Regions from separate parts of the Homo sapiens genome. Here all the other regions are linked to region 1. Evidence: promoter capture Hi-C in 16 types of primary human blood cells and fetal thymus (Javierre and others, 2016). All regions are on one chromosome and are shown on one strand. The core of a region is centred on a gene start or on the middle of the fragment in contact, and the rest is flanking DNA. Distances in the headings are between cores, read along the strand shown.

Evidence for each region. The method cuts DNA at HindIII sites, captures the fragments that hold promoters and counts their contacts. A CHiCAGO score of 5 or more calls a contact.
Region 2: a contact is called between a fragment that was not itself captured here and the fragment with the promoter of ENTHD1 in region 1, in 7 of 17 cell types (activated CD4 T cells, naive CD4 T cells, non-activated CD4 T cells and 4 more). The highest score is 16.3, in activated CD4 T cells.
Region 3: a fragment that was not itself captured here is called in contact with the fragment with the promoter of ENTHD1 in region 1 in 8 of 17 cell types (naive CD4 T cells, activated CD4 T cells, erythroblasts and 5 more); the score reaches 7.6 in naive CD4 T cells.
Region 4: a contact is called between a fragment that was not itself captured here and the fragment with the promoter of ENTHD1 in region 1, in 1 of 17 cell types (megakaryocytes). The highest score is 5.2, in megakaryocytes.
Region 5: a contact is called between a fragment that was not itself captured here and the fragment with the promoter of ENTHD1 in region 1, in 1 of 17 cell types (activated CD4 T cells). The highest score is 5.4, in activated CD4 T cells.
Region 6: a contact is called between the fragment with the promoter of RPS19BP1 here and the fragment with the promoter of ENTHD1 in region 1, in 1 of 17 cell types (naive CD4 T cells). The highest score is 5.2, in naive CD4 T cells.

The regions. Positions count from the first base shown.
Region 1 is chr22:39,892,412-39,895,111 of GRCh38, forward strand. ENTHD1 (ENTH domain containing 1) reads right to left here and starts at 1,349. Exons shown (of 7, transcript NM_152512.4): 1 at 1,284-1,349. It also overlaps a transcript of GRAP2 not described here. The HindIII fragment of the contact is 18,515 bases long and covers 1-2,700 here.
Region 2 is chr22:39,611,045-39,613,744 of GRCh38, forward strand. The region is part of intron 3 of CACNA1I (calcium voltage-gated channel subunit alpha1 I); the gene reads left to right. Among named protein-coding and RNA genes, the nearest start is that of CACNA1I, 42 kb to the left of the region's middle. The HindIII fragment of the contact is 1,488 bases long and covers 643-2,130 here.
Region 3 is chr22:39,550,526-39,553,225 of GRCh38, forward strand. No RefSeq gene overlaps it. Among named protein-coding and RNA genes, the nearest start is that of CACNA1I, 19 kb to the right of the region's middle. The HindIII fragment of the contact is 2,704 bases long and covers 1-2,697 here.
Region 4 is chr22:39,591,851-39,594,550 of GRCh38, forward strand. All of the region lies in intron 1 of CACNA1I (calcium voltage-gated channel subunit alpha1 I), which reads left to right. Among named protein-coding and RNA genes, the nearest start is that of CACNA1I, 22 kb to the left of the region's middle. RefSeq lists an enhancer at 1-867. The HindIII fragment of the contact is 440 bases long and covers 1,168-1,607 here.
Region 5 is chr22:39,504,861-39,507,560 of GRCh38, forward strand. All of the region lies in intron 2 of MIEF1 (mitochondrial elongation factor 1), which reads left to right. Among named protein-coding and RNA genes, the nearest start is that of MIURF, 2.0 kb to the left of the region's middle. The HindIII fragment of the contact is 1,592 bases long and covers 594-2,185 here.
Region 6 is chr22:39,531,402-39,534,101 of GRCh38, forward strand. RPS19BP1 (ribosomal protein S19 binding protein 1) reads right to left here and starts at 1,347. Exons shown (of 4, transcript NM_194326.4): 1 at 1,286-1,347; 2 at 994-1,122. The coding sequence starts at 1,337. RefSeq lists enhancers at 561-1,076, 1,077-1,592, 1,382-1,441, 1,492-1,541 and silencers at 802-931, 1,112-1,271. The HindIII fragment of the contact is 8,920 bases long and covers 1-2,295 here.

The DNA.
Region 1 (2,700 bases), core at 99-2,598:
TTTTCAAGAGTAGTGCCATGTCTATACCATATATTACATGATACCCACAGTAAGGTGTGGAGCTGCTCTGAACAATTAAACACATTAACATGTCTGCAATAAAAACATGTAAATATTTGGAATAAAGACTACAAATGGCCTCAGGCCAAGTTTTACCACCAAATGAGTTGGAGGAAAAGTTGATTTCCAAAAGTTTTTGGATTTCAGGATTGAGAATAAGGAACAGAGGAGCTGAACTGACTTTATCCAAAGACTTGGGACAATAATGACAATAGCATCTAAGAGGCTGAGTGTCCAGAGCTATCTCTGAAAAGATGCATTTAAGGTGGAACTATGAGAAAAGAACAGCTCTTGTGTTTGTACAGGTTCTGCCTATAGACATGAGTTTGACTCGTAAGGAAATGAGCTCTGGCCAAGAATGCTACGGGAAAATGGTTATAGAGACTACCATGCCATTAGGAGGTGTTACTGTTTTGATGAAAAGAATACTGTCAGAGGCAGAGAATCTAATCTTTTCCAGCCCTAAGTGTGTGTTCATTAATTTATTCAACTAATAATCTTCCAGAGCTTACCATGTGGCAGGCTCCATTCTAGGAAATGGAGAAACAGGTGCACAAGACACAGTCCTCACACCCTGGAGTAAACAGCTACTCTTCATTGAACGCTCACAATGTGCTCACACCTGGGCCTTCACATGCCTCATCTCTCTCCTTTAATTAGGATTCAAAGCCATGATTTGAGGTCCTGCTTTGCCATTTCCTAACTAAGACTTAACAACTTCTCTAAGTCTCAGTTCCCTCATCCGCAACACAAAGAATAATCGCCAGACAGGGCCGTGGGGGAGGAAGAAACGAGATGCTTTGGAAAGAATTTTGAAAATGGCGGGTGGAGGCTGAGCAAGAATCAACTTTCTGTGGGCAGGGCCTTTCCTCGGCATCCTCGTCTTCATTCATACAACCCCCACTTCAGATGACGACTGTGTACCAGATGAGCCAGGTGCTGGGCGTTCGGCCACACAGAGAATCAGACCAGCAATTACCCTAGGAGAACCGGCAGTGGAGGGGAAGGCTGGACCTCAGGAAAGCCTCTAGAAGGAGAGAGGGACGTGATGGCGTCACGTCACGCCACAGGGATTTCACCTCCTGCGGATGGTAATGGCCTCGCCGCCCTCCCGCCCCCACCTGGACTCCGACGGTGCCGGCAAGAAACGGGAGGAGGGAAGGCAACCGATGTTTCCAGACCCGCCTTGAGCCCCACCACCACTCCCAAGCAGAGGCTGTTACCTGAGAGGAAAGTCGGCCGCTGCCCAACGACCAAACTTCCTCTCCCCAGGATATTCCACCTACTCCAGCCAGGCTCAAGGGCCCAGGCCGGTCCCCACTTCCGCTTCCTCACTTTCTGGCCTGGTGCAGTTCCTGTCAGGGCGTCAAGCAAGATGGTTGCAGATACCTGAGCTGGAGGGTACCAAGGGGAATGAAGGTAAGTGTCTTCGTTTCACAGGCTGCCGGGCTGTGACACTGCCCTAATCCTCCTTTCAAAGAATAAATTTTTTTTTTTTTTTGAGATCTGGGAAATAGTTTAATCAGACACTAGCATTTATTCTTAGCTGCTTTCTTAATTAAATAAAAATGAGTATAAATTAATTTACTAAATGTTCACAACGTAAAAACGGACATTAAAAAAAGAAAAAAAATGCCAAGGTAAGCTGATAATGTTTTTAAAAAGTAGACAATAAAATAATGTATGTAACTTAAAATTTGCCATGATAATTTATTCTTAAAATGGAAAATCAGTAAAATACTCAGACTTCTAGCATAATATCTCTTTTTTTTTATTTATTATTATTTAAGTTTTAAGGACATGGATGAAATTGGAAATCATCATTCTCAGTAAACTATCGCAAGAACAAAAAACCAAACACCGCATATTCTCACTCATAGGTGGGAATTGAACAATGAGAACACATGGACACAGGAAGGGGAACATCACACTCTGGGGACTGTTGTGGGGTGGGGGGAGGGGGGAGGGATAGCATTGGGAGATATACCTAATGCTAGATGACGAGTTAGTGGGTGCAGCGCACCAGCATGGCACATGAATACATTTTTAAAAGTGTGTTACTACTGTCATTTCAACTGACTAGAAATACCACCAGCACGTGATTGCCACCTCAAAGGACTGAGAATGTAATAGTAGTCTATGAAGAGCAGTGTGTGTGATGGACAATGATGGGGTAGCTCCAGTGACTGATGGCTTCAGGTGCCACTGACGGGTAATTGTTGATGTATTCAACTGATTTTCCGTGAGCACCCACTTTGTGCCAGACAGTAAGGACTCGGAGATAAAAAGCAGCCCTCTGCTGGATACGTTTACAGGCTAGTGGAGGTGACAGGCACCGTCAGAGAAGATTGTAACAAGATATGTATGGCATAGTAAGAGAGAAGAGATCATCTAATTCTGCCACTGAGTATTTAAGGGCAGGTTTCACAGAAGAGTTTACATCTGAATTGAATCTTAAAGGATGACAGGGAGTTCACTGGATAGACAAAGTAGAGGAGGACGTAAGAGGCAAAGGACACATCATGTGTAAAGGCATGAAAGCTGAGCCAGCCTATTATCTTGGAAAAACTACATGTACTGTAGTTACTACAACTGTCACAAAGGCTATTAGTGGAGCAGCAGAGGAAGGTTAAATAACAG
Region 2 (2,700 bases), core at 137-2,636, 280 kb before region 1:
GGGAGGCTGGTCAGGGAGGCTGGAAAGGGATGCTGGACAGGGAGGATCCCAGGCCAGGCCTTGTTACTCCTGGAGTTCACAAGGGCGCCCTGGCTGGTGGAAACCAAGCCGTTTAGGTGGCCTACCATGAACTATCATTAACTGACTGAGTTGGGCTTTTTTACACCCATGATGGTGTTACATCCTGACAATCCCCAGAAATTAGTATTGTTAACACCATTTTGCAGATGAGAAAATGGAGTGTCAGAGAGATTGGTAGCCTGCCTCAGGACACACTCAGCCTTTATGGATCAGATCTGGGATTGCTCAGGTCTGGCTGCCCCCAGGGCTCGTGCTCACCCATGACATGAAGGGGTTGTACATTTCCAGAGGCTGAAATATAAGCCGTTGATTTGCCTCACTAGCCCTCAGAAAGCAGTGAGGTGAGTCCCCTGAGAGGAACATTTCCCCCAGGCTCTGGTTAGAGCCAAAAGCATCTCTGCACCACACAGAGCCCACTCTCTGGTTCCCAGCAGCCATTCTCACCTGCCGTGCTGCCAAGACTACTCTGGAGTAATGGAGCTAAGTTTCACGGGAGGCAGACATCATGAGGCATACACTAAAATTATTCATTGTTTATCTGAAGCTCAGATTTAACTGGGAAGCTTCTATTTATCTGGCAACTCTACCCAGAAATAAACCACTGGAGTAAAGTAACCCAAATGGAGGCTTGGAGAGAGAAGGTCCAGGTCTTCTGCCACTGAGGTTCCCAGAGCTGCCCTGGTTCCCACCTGCCTGGGTTCTGTCTTTGCAGCCCATCCCTCAGCTTTGTGGCCAACCCAGCATTCTTCCCCCAAATCCCCCCTGTACTCTGAGCTTGGCCTGAGTTGGTTTCAGAGCGTCAGTCAACTGGGCTTAATAACCTCTGTTCTTTGGCCTCATAGGTTTGTGTGAGGAACTGCGAGTGTTGCTGTTGTTTGAATGTGTCTCCCATAGTTCATGTGTTGGCAACCTAATGCCAAGTGCAACAGAGTTGAGAGGTGGGACCTTTAAGAAGTGACCAGGTCATGAGGACTCAGCCCTCGTGGATGGATTAATGCCATTATTGTGGGAGTGGGATGGTTATCGTGGGAGTGGGTTCCTGATGAGAGGGATGAGTTTGGCCCCTTCCCTGTCTCACACACACTTTCTTGCCCTTCTGCCACGTGATGACACAGCAAGAAAGTCCTCGCCAGATGCAGCTCCTTGATGTTGGACTTCCCAGCCTCCAGAATCGTAAACCAAATTAATTTCTTTTTTAAAAATAAATCATCCAGTCTTTCTGCTTCTGTTATAGCAGCAGAAAATGGACTAAGACAGGTATCTTAGTCTGTTTGGGGTGCTCTAACAAAATACCATAAACCGGGTGCCTCATAAACAACAGAAATCTAGTTCTCACAGTTCTGGAGGTTGGGAAGTCCAAGATCAAGGTGCTGGCAGATTCAATGTCTGGTGGGGGCCACTTCCTCATAGATGAGTCTTCTCATTGAGTCCTCACTTGAGTCCTCACGTGAAGGGGCAGATGAGTTTCCCTTTGCCTGTTTTAAAAAGGTGCTAATCTCATTCTTGAGGGCCCTGCCTTCATGATCTAATCACCTCCCCAAAGGCCCTAATACCATCACCTTGGGGGATAGAATTTCAATGTATGAATTTTAAGTGGATATAAATATTCAGACCATAGCAATGGGTGAAATGACCCATAAATCATGAGGTGCTGGCCACAGTCAAGGGTTAATGTCATTACTCCCAAATCCTCTCTATTATTTCCTTCCTCCTTCTCTCCCTCCTTCCCTCCATCCCTCCACAGAACACCTACTGTGTGCTAGGTCCCCGGATATTGGCAATGGCTGGTGGTCTAGTTACCAACCAACACAAGCCTGAGTCATCACAGAGCTGCCTCCTGACAGATGATCTGTGATTTCCAGCATCTCAGCTTCCCTTCCATTAGCTACATCTTAAATCACATTTTAAGAAAGCCCCCGTGGGCCCCTTGTGAAGATTGAGGAAACACCCTATTTTTATCAGCCACACACAGAAATCATCTCCTGGGCGGGGTATTTCCTGGAAAGATGTTAAATCTCAGTCATTTCTTGTGGCTTCTTGTCAGCTCCAAGCTTTTTTTTTCTTTCTTCTTTTTTTCTGATCTTGTCCCTCAAATTATTTGTTTGACAAACTCACACAGGGAATCCACCTCTAAGTCAGAACCTGGGCTGGGCACTGGGGACCCAGCAGGGGCTCTGAGCCAACCCCTGCTCTGAGGAACAGGGACAGGTGCCCAGAGGTGCCCTCATAGAGGATCAGTGGGACACCAGGCAGAAGAGCTCATCTCTGCCTGGGGGTGGGGTCTGGAGAGGGCCTCATGTGATTCGTGGGCGCGTGTGAGCTGAGGTAACAGTTGAGGCTGCGATACAATAATAGCTCACATTTCTTGGCTGTTCCTTGTGTGAGGCCCTGTTCTGAGTACTGGATCTGTATATGAACATGTTTCAGGTCAGTGACTTGCCCAAAGTCACATGGGACACAAGCAGCGAGCTGGGATTGGAACCCAGCTCTGTACTCTGACCATCGGGTAGCACTGCCTTGGAGGATGCTGGCCCTGGTCCTAGTGCTGTGGTGGGCGCTGTGCCTTCCACCTACCTGGTCAGCAGAGGGTAACGCTCCCGAGCCGGAGGCGCTGGCCTG
Region 3 (2,700 bases), core at 96-2,595, 340 kb before region 1:
CTGCTCCCTCAAATGCCCATCCTAAGCCATCAGGGCTTGAAAGACCACAGGGCAGGGCCCAGGCTTACAGTAATGACCTGGCCAACTACAGCGCCTCCAGCCTGAGACCCACTCCCACCACACAGGCCTCATGGTCTCTCCTTGATGGCGACATTGAGGGTGTTTGCCTGGAAGCCTGACTGCCCGGGTGCCGGGACTTTGTCCAGCTGAGGATAAAAGGGATAGTTGCCTGCTCTATTATTCTATCTCCAAGCAGCAGGAGTGGCAGAAAGGAAGAGTGTGAGGGCACACGTGCGTGAGAGATGTACATACACACACACAGCGGGGAGACGGGAGAGCAAGAGACAGACAGGAAGAGTTAGGGAGACAGAGAGACAGAGGGGCATGGAGAGAGCCAGAGAAAGGGTAAGACAGAGAAACGCCAAGGAGGAAGGGAGCCAGGCAAGGGAAACAGGAAGCAGGAGAGAGACGCCCAAAGAGACAGAGACAGAGGTGGACAGAAGCCAGCAGGGGCAGAGGGTCCCCACCCCCTGCACCTCAAGGTGATTTTTCCTCTTTTCATCGTCCACTCTCCTCTCTGGCTCCGTCGCTCCTAAGCTGGGCTTTCCGGTCCCTCTTCCACCTCTTCCCCAGTGTCATTTTCTTTTCTTTCTTTCTTTCTTTTTTTTTTTTTTTTGAGATAGTCTTGCTCTGTCGCCCAGGCTAGAGTGCAATGGCATGATCTCAGCTTACTGCAACCTAGGTTGCCGCCTCCTGGGTTCAAGAGATTCTCCTGCCTCAGCCTCCCGAGTAGCTGGGATTACAGGCGCCTGCCACCCTGCCTGACTAATTTTTGTATTTTTAGTAGAGGCGGGGTTTCACCAAGCTGGCCAGGCTGGTCTCGAACTCCTGACCTCAGATGATCCACCTGCCTCAGCCTCCCAAAGTGCTGGGATTACAGGGGTGAGCCACTGCGCCCAGACCCCCATGTCTTTTTTAACCTGATGCTCTCCGGGCCTTTGCTCCTGCTGTCCCTTGGCTTGAGATGCCCTTCCTCCAATACTTGGCTAGGAAAACTCAGATCTGCCCACTGCCTGTTGTCCCTTCTAGGCCTTCACTGTCTCTCCCTTTGTGGAGCCTTCTTTGGCCCTCCTGGTCTGACCCCAGAAAATATCGTTTCCTCCTGGGGGCTCCCAGCTCCTTTCTTCCGAGCTTAAATCCAGGTTGTCCAGATGTGGCTTCTCCCCACAGGGCTGGGGTTCATCTGTTTCTGTATACCTGACACGTGGCACTTAGTAGGTGGTCAATAAACATCACTGAGTGATGGCCTGGCGTGTAACTGTTGTCACACCAGCTCTCTTGAACTCAATTTCTTTCTTTTTTCCTTTTTTGACATGGAGTCTCGCTCTATTGCCCAGGCTGGAGTATAGTGGCGCGATCTTGGCTCACTGCAAACTCTGCCTCCTGGGCTCAAGCAATTCTCCTGCCTCAGCCTCCCGAGTAGCTAGGATTACAGGCGCATGCTGCCACGCCCGGCTAATTTCTGTATTGTTAGTAGAGACTGGATTCTCTGAGCCCTGTCCAGGAAGCTCCTCAGGCATCAGCTACCTGTTTTGGTTGAGAGTCAGGGACCTCCGACCTGGCAGGAACTTGAGGTTCCTGGGGTCTGTCCCCAGCTATGCTCTGCCCCCACTCCAGGCTTTTGTCCTGGGCAGATAGATAGGCTTTTGTCCTGGGCAGAGATAGATTCTCTCTCTCTCTCTCTCACACACACACACATGCGCACACACATGCACTCTGGCATAGAATCCTGTTTATGCTACTTATTAGCTGTGTGACTCTGGGCAATTTACTTAATTTCTCCGGATTCTGGTTCTCCCGAGTGTAAGTGGAGCTGCATGATCCCTGTCACCTAGGACTGCTGGGGGTTAAGTGGGCTGATAGAAGAAGTGGACACCTGCAGCCGGGCCCAGGGGCTCCCTGCTTCTCAGCTACATAAGCCAGCTCCACCCCCACACTTCCTGCCCAGATTCCTAGGGATGCAGCAATCTTGGGGGGCTGCCAGTGTTCTCCTGGACCCCTCTGGCTTTGACCTTTTGCTTCTGCTGGCTTAGTGCAGTTGGGGATGGACTGGGTGACATGCCCAGGGCTGTTCTTGTTCATGTCAGCACTGAGGGGGAGCTCGGCTCCTTTCTTGATATCCACACACTGAGTACCCCTGTGGGTCCAGCAGATGTTCCTGGGGACTTGGCAGGGGAGGGACACTGACACTGCAGCCATGCAAACCACTTCAAATCGAAGTCCCCCCGCTTCTGGGGGATCCCCCCAGGTGCGTCCCCCTCTGCGTGTCCCTGGTCTCCTCCATCTTGCAATCTCTTCTCTCCTCTCCCTTCCCTCTCCACTCTTTTCTCTCTGGACCTTCTGATTCTTCTCTCTTTATGTTGCAGAACAATCCAGCCACTACCTTCCAGACTGGGCTCTGGGTCCATCTTGGCCTCTTCAAACCCATCAAGGTGCCCACAGGTGCTGGGGTTCAGCCTGCCCCATCACATATGGGAAGCCCAGCGTCTGGCCCATCCTCCCTAGGGTCTCATTCCAAATCTCCTCCCTGTTTTACCCACAGTCAGCACTTCCAGAATTTTCCATCTCGTAATGTCCTCCAGCCATGGCACAGGCCTGGTACGCAGAGGTGATTAACAGATGCTTTTGGACTGTTGAAGC
Region 4 (2,700 bases), core at 138-2,637, 300 kb before region 1:
CGCTTGGCCATGCATGCTGTTTGATTTGGAGGCTCCTTGGCAAACAGACACTCAGGGGCACTGAAGAAGTGTTCGCGATTGTCACCATTATTACCACCGGCAGGCTGGCGCCTGGCACACAACAGGCACACAATATAAGCACATTCATTCCCCCTGCTCAGCTCTGAGACCCCAGTTCTGAAGACTTTGAGAGGTGTGGTGCGGGGACGTGGGTAGGAAGTGGGGCTGAGGGCCCAGGCTGTGCTGAGGCGCTGGGGGGCTCTGCAGCAGCACCCAAAGACCCTGAGTGATTTTCTCCCCGAGGCCTGTGTGCTTGGGACGGCTTTGCCTGCCAAGGAAACTCGATTGATTGCATCACCATTGATCTGTTTCTCCATCTGTGTTCCTCAAAGGCGCTCAGGGCTGCCCGTCAGGGATCTAACCAGCTTAAAGTGATGGTACTGTGGCTGTGCCGAGTGTGTGGGGAAACGCGGAGGGTTTCCGTGTGAGTTTGAAAAATCGACTGTGGCTTGGGGACCCCCGTGGGTGGTGAGTCTGTTGTCTAAGTGTCACTTCAGCTCTGGGCTTGCTGTGGAGCTGGGACAGATTTCTGCCCCTGTTTTCCATCAGTGCAATGAGGGATTGGAGCCGTTGCTCTCTAACGACGCTGGCAGGGCTGCTCTGTGGCAAAGGTCACCCCGACTGCAGTGAGGGCCTGAGGGGTGAAGTAGGCGAGGCAGCTGGGCCTTGGATGCCCGTCGCAGGGCTTCAAGCCTCGCTGTGAGAGGCAGTTGGGAGCCATTGAAGACGTCCTGCCGTCGTGGCACTAGCACTCCAGCCCTGCCCCCTCTGTCACCCAGAAATCCTGTGCTCCCCCTTGGGTCTCCAGCTTCCCTCAGGTTGTCCCCGAACCTCACGGCTTCGCTTGCCTGTGTTCTCAGAGAGTTCCTCAACACTTGTGACTCATGGTGGAAGCATGAGGCGTCAGGCCAGGCTGCAGAGTGGCTCAAGCCGGAGACCTTGACTCCCCCCGCCACCCTCCTACCCCACACTGCACTGTCTGGTTTAACTTCAAGGAGGGCTGGTGCTTTTGATCCCTGAGCCAGTGGGGAGTGTGTCAGGAACCGCGGGCAGTGATGCCAGTTCTGGCCTGACTTCTAAGCCTCCTGGGCTCTTGGAAGGGGCCCAAGCTTTGCCATCTGGGATTTCCCCGGGCACCTCTGGGCAAGGGCTGAGACCATCCATTGCTGAATTTCTGAAGCTGAGCAGCCCAGGGATGAAAGCCACTCCATCTGCCTCCTGCGGGGACCCAGTGCAGTGGGCGAGTTAGATGGGCCACAGAGGCAGTGCTGTGCAGCGGCCACCAGCACTGCTGTGAATCAGACAATCTGGGCTGCTCGGGGACTGGGTGACCTTGTGTGAGTGGTGTCAGCTCTCCAGGCTTGTTCCTTTTCCATCCCCAGGGGATTGTGAGAGCTGAGGTCATGTCCCTAGGGTGTCTGGTACACAGTCGTCAGAGGTACTGCCAAATTCATCACTGTGGTACGTGCTAGCCAGGGCAGGTGGGAGTGCTTCTGGAGAGGAGGCTGAGCCACCACCTTGTGAGGGGCAAGAGGCACATCCGGGGAAGCTTCAAGAAGAGGTGACCTGCGAACTGGGCTCTGAAACAGTCTGCCTGCTGGAGAGGTGGAGGAAAGGGAAAGTGTAGGCAGAAGGCGTGTTTGGAGAAAGCGAGTGCTGAGGCCAGTGAGTGATAAGACTGCAAGGATTCACTGAGGCGAGAGTCTACCTTGCGTACCAGGCTTGGGAGGGTGATGGGGAGCCATGGGAGGTTCTTGAGCAGGAGAGAGGCATCTGGAGAGTGTGTTTCAGGCAGATTAGCCTGGCAGTGGCAAAACAGCTTGGAGGCAGGAAAAGCCTCCAGCCTGAGGTTTTGTGTCTCAGCTCTGCTCTTTTCCAGCTGGTGACCTTGGGCCAATCTGTTTCCCTTTTGTGTCTTGGTTTCCTTATTTGTAAATGGGGCTTATAAAAGAGCTGTGAGGATTAAATGAGATAACATTTGGAAAATGTTCAAGTTGTGTTGGGCACACAGCAAGTGCCTGGTTATCGTGTGGGGCAGATTGGAGGGGCAGAGACCAGAGCTGGGGGATACCGAGGATGCTGGGTCAGGGTCCTGGGGAGACACACTGAAGATGGGCTGAGAGGCCTCAGGGGAGGGAGGAGAGCCATGGGCAGAGACAGGCCGTACTTCACAGAGGAGAGCGCTGGCCTTGGAGTCCAGCAGGCCTGGTGTGAATCTCTGTGCCAGTAATTCCTAGCTGTGAAACCCAGGAGAGGCCCCTGATTTCCCCATGTCTCAGCCTTCCTTATCTGTAAAATGGGCCTGCTGACCTCCACTGCTCAGGGCCTTGTTGAGGAGGCAGCAGGGGCACCGGGCTCCTGGGAGACGCCACTAAGTGCACTTTGAGCCTGAAACTGGCAGGAGGGGCAGAGGGAGCAGAGGATGGGGCTGGAAGGAGAGAGCGCACGACAGGAAGAGGGGAAAGGCGAGGGGGATGGGGGATGTTCTTTGGTAATTAGAATGTTCGAACTTCAAAAAAGTTAATTAATGATGAAGCTGCTGCTGGAGCCAGGCTCAGGCTCGAAGGGGGCCCTGGCAGCGACTGAAATTAATTACAGGCTATGGCGGGAGAGTGGCAGTGGGGTGAGGGGACGGGAAGG
Region 5 (2,700 bases), core at 140-2,639, 390 kb before region 1:
AAGCAAATGCCTGGAGTGGGAACTGCAATTTTCTTTTTTAAGAGACAGGGTTGGCCCGGTGCGGTGGCTCACGCCTGTAATCCCACCACTTTAGGAGGCCAAGGCAGGAGGATCACAAGGTCAGGAGTTCGAGACCAGCCTGGTCAGCATGGTGAAACCCTGTCTCTACCAAAAATACAAAAAATTAGGCGGGCATGGTGGCGCATGCCTTAAGTCCCAGCTACTCAGGAGGCTGAGGCAGGAGAATTGCTTGAACCCGGCACGTGGAGGTTGCAGTGAACCAAGATCGCGCCACTGCACTCCAGCCTGGGTGACAGAGTGACACTCCGTCTCCAAAAAAAAAAGAGACGGGGTCTCGCTCTCGCCCAACCTGGAGTACAGTGGCATGATCATAGCTCTCTGGAACCTTGAATGCCTGGCCTCAAGCAGTCCTCCCTTCTCAGCCTCCTGAGTAGCTGGGACGCCAGGCATGTACCAATGTGCTCAGCTAATTTTTTATTTATTTATTTTTTTTGTAGAGACGGTCTTGCTATGTTGCCCAGGCTGCTTTCAAACTCTTAGCCTCAAGCGATCCTCCCACCCTTGCCTCCCAAAGCTTTGGGATTATAGGTTCAAACAGCTCTGCCTGTCCAGAAACTGCACTTTGTAGTCTGGAAACTTAAGTCTGATGTGGCCAGCATGGTACCCCTGTAAGGCAAATAGCCAGAGTTGAGGCTGGGCCTGGTCTGGAAGGACGTTGACTCCAAGTTGAGATTGTAATGTATATCTTCTTATGTGGGGACCATCACAGCTCTGTAAACAGAGGAATGACATAGCCACATTTGTATCGTAGAGGGAGCATACCAGTGGCAGTGTGAAGAATAAATTGATGAGAGATACTAGAGGCAGTGGATGTAGCCAGATCAGATTGAGGGACCGAGGGGTGGGGGTGGCCACATATAAACACAGTGTGTACAGCAGTGGGACTTGGTGATCAGTTGGCTGAGGCAGGAGGAGGAGAGAGAAAGATGAAGAGTAACTGGGTGTAAGGCCTGCCAGCTGGGTGGAGGGTGCTGCTTTTAACTGGGGGAGGGAAAGTAGGAAGAGAGCCTTATGTAATGACTTTTGGTTCTTCTCAGCCACTTAGGATTGGCATATCTGCCTTTGGCAGTACAGGGCCAGGGGTGGGGTGATGCCCATGGGAGCCTGTCTGCACAGGGAGGGTTGGCTAGCGGATCTAGGAGGGAATTAGGGCGTTCCTTGAAATCTTTGTGTTCCTAATATATTTTGGCTGTGAGTTGGGCTACACGCTGCTATCACTACCCCCTCAAAAAAACCAAGAAACAAAACGCCGTAGAGTTAATACTTCATTCCCACAACATATACTCCCTATGCATCAAACACTGCACACCCTGGGGATGCAGCAGTGAATGAGCCCAAATGTCCCCCAGAAGCATATGGTCTGGGGGTTAATGGAGTGGAGATGGGAACAAGGTGTGGAGCAAGTACCTAGGACCCCTGTAGATTAGTTCTCCGCACCGCGTGATCTCAGGGTTCAAATCTTGGTCACATACTTTACTGACACAGTGACCTTGGGTCAGTTACAGAAACTACTCAGTTTCTTCATCCTTTAAATTTGGGATAATATTACTGATCTCATGGGATTGTTGTTGTGAGGATTGAGGGAATTAATAATAAGTGTAAAATTGCCAGCACATAATACACACTCAATATCTGCTACCTAGTCTCGTACATACTCAAGCAAGATAGGTTTATAAAAAGGCCTATGGCTTTTTCAATTAAAATAAGTTGGAACTTTCACACTTCTGTGCTGTCATCCTAGGAAGCCGCAAGGCCTCCATTATTCATCATCCTTAACTATATTAGGGTGATGAGCATTTCTGTTCCCATTTTTGTATCTAGCGAGACAGGTTAAATAACTTGCCTGAAATATTGGCAGAGCTGAAATTCTCCATCCCTAGTTCTGCCCACCAGGTCTGTGTTCCTTCTTTGTTTTTTATTTTAACCATCTTAACCATTTTAAAGTGTACAGTTCAGTAGTAGTAAGTATATTCACATTGTTGGGTAACAGAGCCCCAGAACCCTTTTCATCTGGCACATCTGAAACTCTGTACCCATTAAGCAATGGGGTTCCTTCATGACAGTCCCGATTGGAGGTGGAGTTCTTACCTGCTAGTAGGCTGTAAGCTTATGCAGCAGAACCTGAGTGGAGAGCGTGTCATGGAGAAGCAGTTTAAACTGGAACAAGTTGAATTAACTTTTCAAGTAAGGTCCGTGTCTGTCTGTTGAGCTTGTGGATGCCGTCTTCTGTTCCAGGTCACCAGGTCTGTGATGTCAGTCCGTCCTTGGATGGTGGGCGGGGGGTGCCTATTGCACTACAGTAGGAAAAGCCTTTTTTTCTTGAGATGGAGTCTTGCTCTGTCACCCAGGCTGGAGTGCAGTGGGTGCAATCTTGGCTCACTGCAACCTCTGCCTCCCGACTTCAAGCGATTCTCCTGCCTCGGCCTCCCGAGTAGCTGGGACTACAGGCGCCTGCCACCACACCTGGCTAATTTTTTGTGTTTTTAGTAGAGACAGAGGTTCACCGTGTTAGCCAGGATGGTCTCGATCTCCTGACCTCGTGATCTGCCCACCTTGGCCTCCCAAAGTGTTGGGATTACAGGCGTGAGCCACCGTACCCGGCCGAAAAGGCTTAACAAG
Region 6 (2,700 bases), core at 97-2,596, 360 kb before region 1:
TAGGGATTCAGACACAGTAAGAGCTTGCCACGTCCTGACACATGTCAAAATATCACCATCTTGCCTACACCAGCCCCTCCGAAAGTCTTTATGTCTATTAAGTGACACTACGTCCCCCAAGAAACTAGGCTCCACCTTCACAGCCAATTCACCACTAAAACCCCTCTAAAGGCTGAAATTCTCTGCTGCCCCCTCTTTAACATATTTTCCACCTGCACAATTCTCTTGTTATCTCTGCTGCTATAGCCACTGCCCAGGCCACAGCATGTCCTATTTCAATGGAGTAGGTAATAGCAGCACTCTGGAGACACAATGCCCGGGCAGCCACAATGCCTGTACCACCTGGGCAGGTGCCTTTTTCTGAATCTGTAAAACGGGGGTGATAGTAGTATCGACCTCAAAGGGCTGCTGTAAGGATCAAACGAGCTTACATTTGTACAGCACTTAGAATCAGCACCTGGTACAGAGTGTTAGTGAATGTGTTTAAATGCTCCATCTTTGATCCTCATTCACTAGGTCACCTTTACCAGCCTTTATTTTTTCAAATTCTCAAAGGCAACAACCTCCTTTCTGACTCAGGACCTTTGCACATACTATTCTTCCTAGAATATTCTCCTACTTTTCACCTAGCTCACTCTTATACATCCTTCAGCTCTCGGCTGAAATGTCGCTTCCTCAGAGAAGGCTGACTTGGCCTAAGTCCCCATCAGAGTACCGTAGTCTTTTAATTCATAGGCTTCAATGCACTTAGCAATGACACACTGGGTTTGATATTCTTTGATGCTTCTCTCCCCACTAGGGCCGTAGTCCACGAGGACCAGGACGGTGGCGTGTTCTGTCACCTTCGTATGTCCAGGGCCCCGCTCCGCGCCTGGCACACAGTAGGTCTAGCAATACCGGGCGAACGCTTCAAGCCCTGCCTCAAGCGCCACCTCCTCTGGGGCGCAGGTCCCAGCACCGGAGGCAGCACTTTCAGCCCCTTCCCGAACTTACCCAGTGCCGACTTGGGCACCTTTCCCTTGGCCGAGTTCCGCAGTTTCTGGGCCTGAATTGCCTTCGTCTTCCGGGGCCGTTTCACCGGAGCCCCTCTCGGCTTGGCCTGACCTGGAGGGTCCCGGGGGGCTGTAGGGGAAGAGAGAGGAAGAGACCCAGGTCAGAGGGCGCGCAGCGTTCCCATGCCACTGGGGCTAAGCCCGGCCTGGATTGTTTTCCATCCAGGGCTCCCGCCCGCAGCCACTACCATCCTCCTGCCCGCGCCGGACGTCCCCTGGCCAGCCCTCCTCACCCTCGGACGCCGCCAGCAGCTCCAGGCCCCGCCGCAGCAGGGCGGCGGACATGGCGGCGCTTGGCTCCGCCCACGAGCCTCACACTACTTCCGACCTGGCAGTCCCTGTCGTCTCGGCGGAAACCCGAGCCCGAACAGAGGGATCCGGAGGGGGATGGGCGGAAGTGCCCATCTTTCTTAGGACGCATGCGTTAGGGGTTTACACTTGAGCGGAAGAAGGGGCGGAAACTGGAGGCGGGTCCAAGGCGCAGAAAGACACATGTGTTACTCAATCCCAATCTACCTGGCTCCTGGCGCTCAGTCCCCTCCTTCCCCGGAAGCCGTCCGCAACCTGCTCCGCCGGGTTGGCCAATCCTCTCGGGTCTCGTGGCTCCGTGGCGGGCTAGGATGGGGACAGGGCGGAGTGTTTTTCATATACTTCAACCAGCACTAGGTATCGCACAGGTTGAGTGCAGCATGAGAATCCAGTTGTCTTCCCTTAAGCCAGACATTAAAGACATATCTTTGTTTTGAAAACTACAATTATTTCTCATAAAATACGTTGTTTATGTTACCAAGCAATGGGTTTATTGTCATTTTAAGTGAATTAATGAATATGTAAAATTTTTGTTTTAGTTTCTAGTATGGCAAATATCAGTTGCCTACATACAAAAGTTCTTTGGGATCCTGAATTTTTTAAAATTTATTTTATTTAATTAAATTAATTTTTTTTTTGAGACGGAATCTCGCTCTGTCGCCCAGGCTGGAGTGCAGCGATCTCGGCTCACTGCAACTTCCGCCTCCCGGGTTCAAGCGATTCTTTTGCCTTAGCCTCCCGAGTAACTGAGATTACAGACGCCCGCCACCACGGCCGGCTAATTTTCTTTTTAAAAAATTTTTAGTAGAGACGGGGTTTTGCCATGTTGGCCAGGCTGGTCTTGAACTCCGGACCTCAAGTGATCCGCCCACCTCAGCCTCCCAAAGTGCTGGGATTACAGGAGTGAGGGGATTCTGAAGTTTTAAATGTAAGAAGCTTCTTAGACCAAAACATTTGAGCCCCTCTGGCCTAGAAGTGACACTGCTTACCTGGGGGAGGAGCCCTGGGCTTGTTCGCTGCTCCATCTGCAGCTGGCAGCCCAGCACCTGGCATGGAGAAGACACGCAATAAGTGAACGGTGAATCAGAAGGGACCACTGGGTTCACTCAGCCGGGTTCTGAGGGCCTTCTGTGTACTTGACACCACAGAGTGTGGGACCTGGAGTTCGTCCTCCGGGATAGACCACACCGTTTAAGCTCCATCGGCTAGAGAGTAATAATAACAACCAACACAAACTCAAGCATTTGTGCTGTTCTACGTGCTTTACATTTGTTAACTTGTTTATCCCCCCTACCCTTCCAGGTAGGAATTGTCTTTTGCATTTTACAGACGAGGAAAC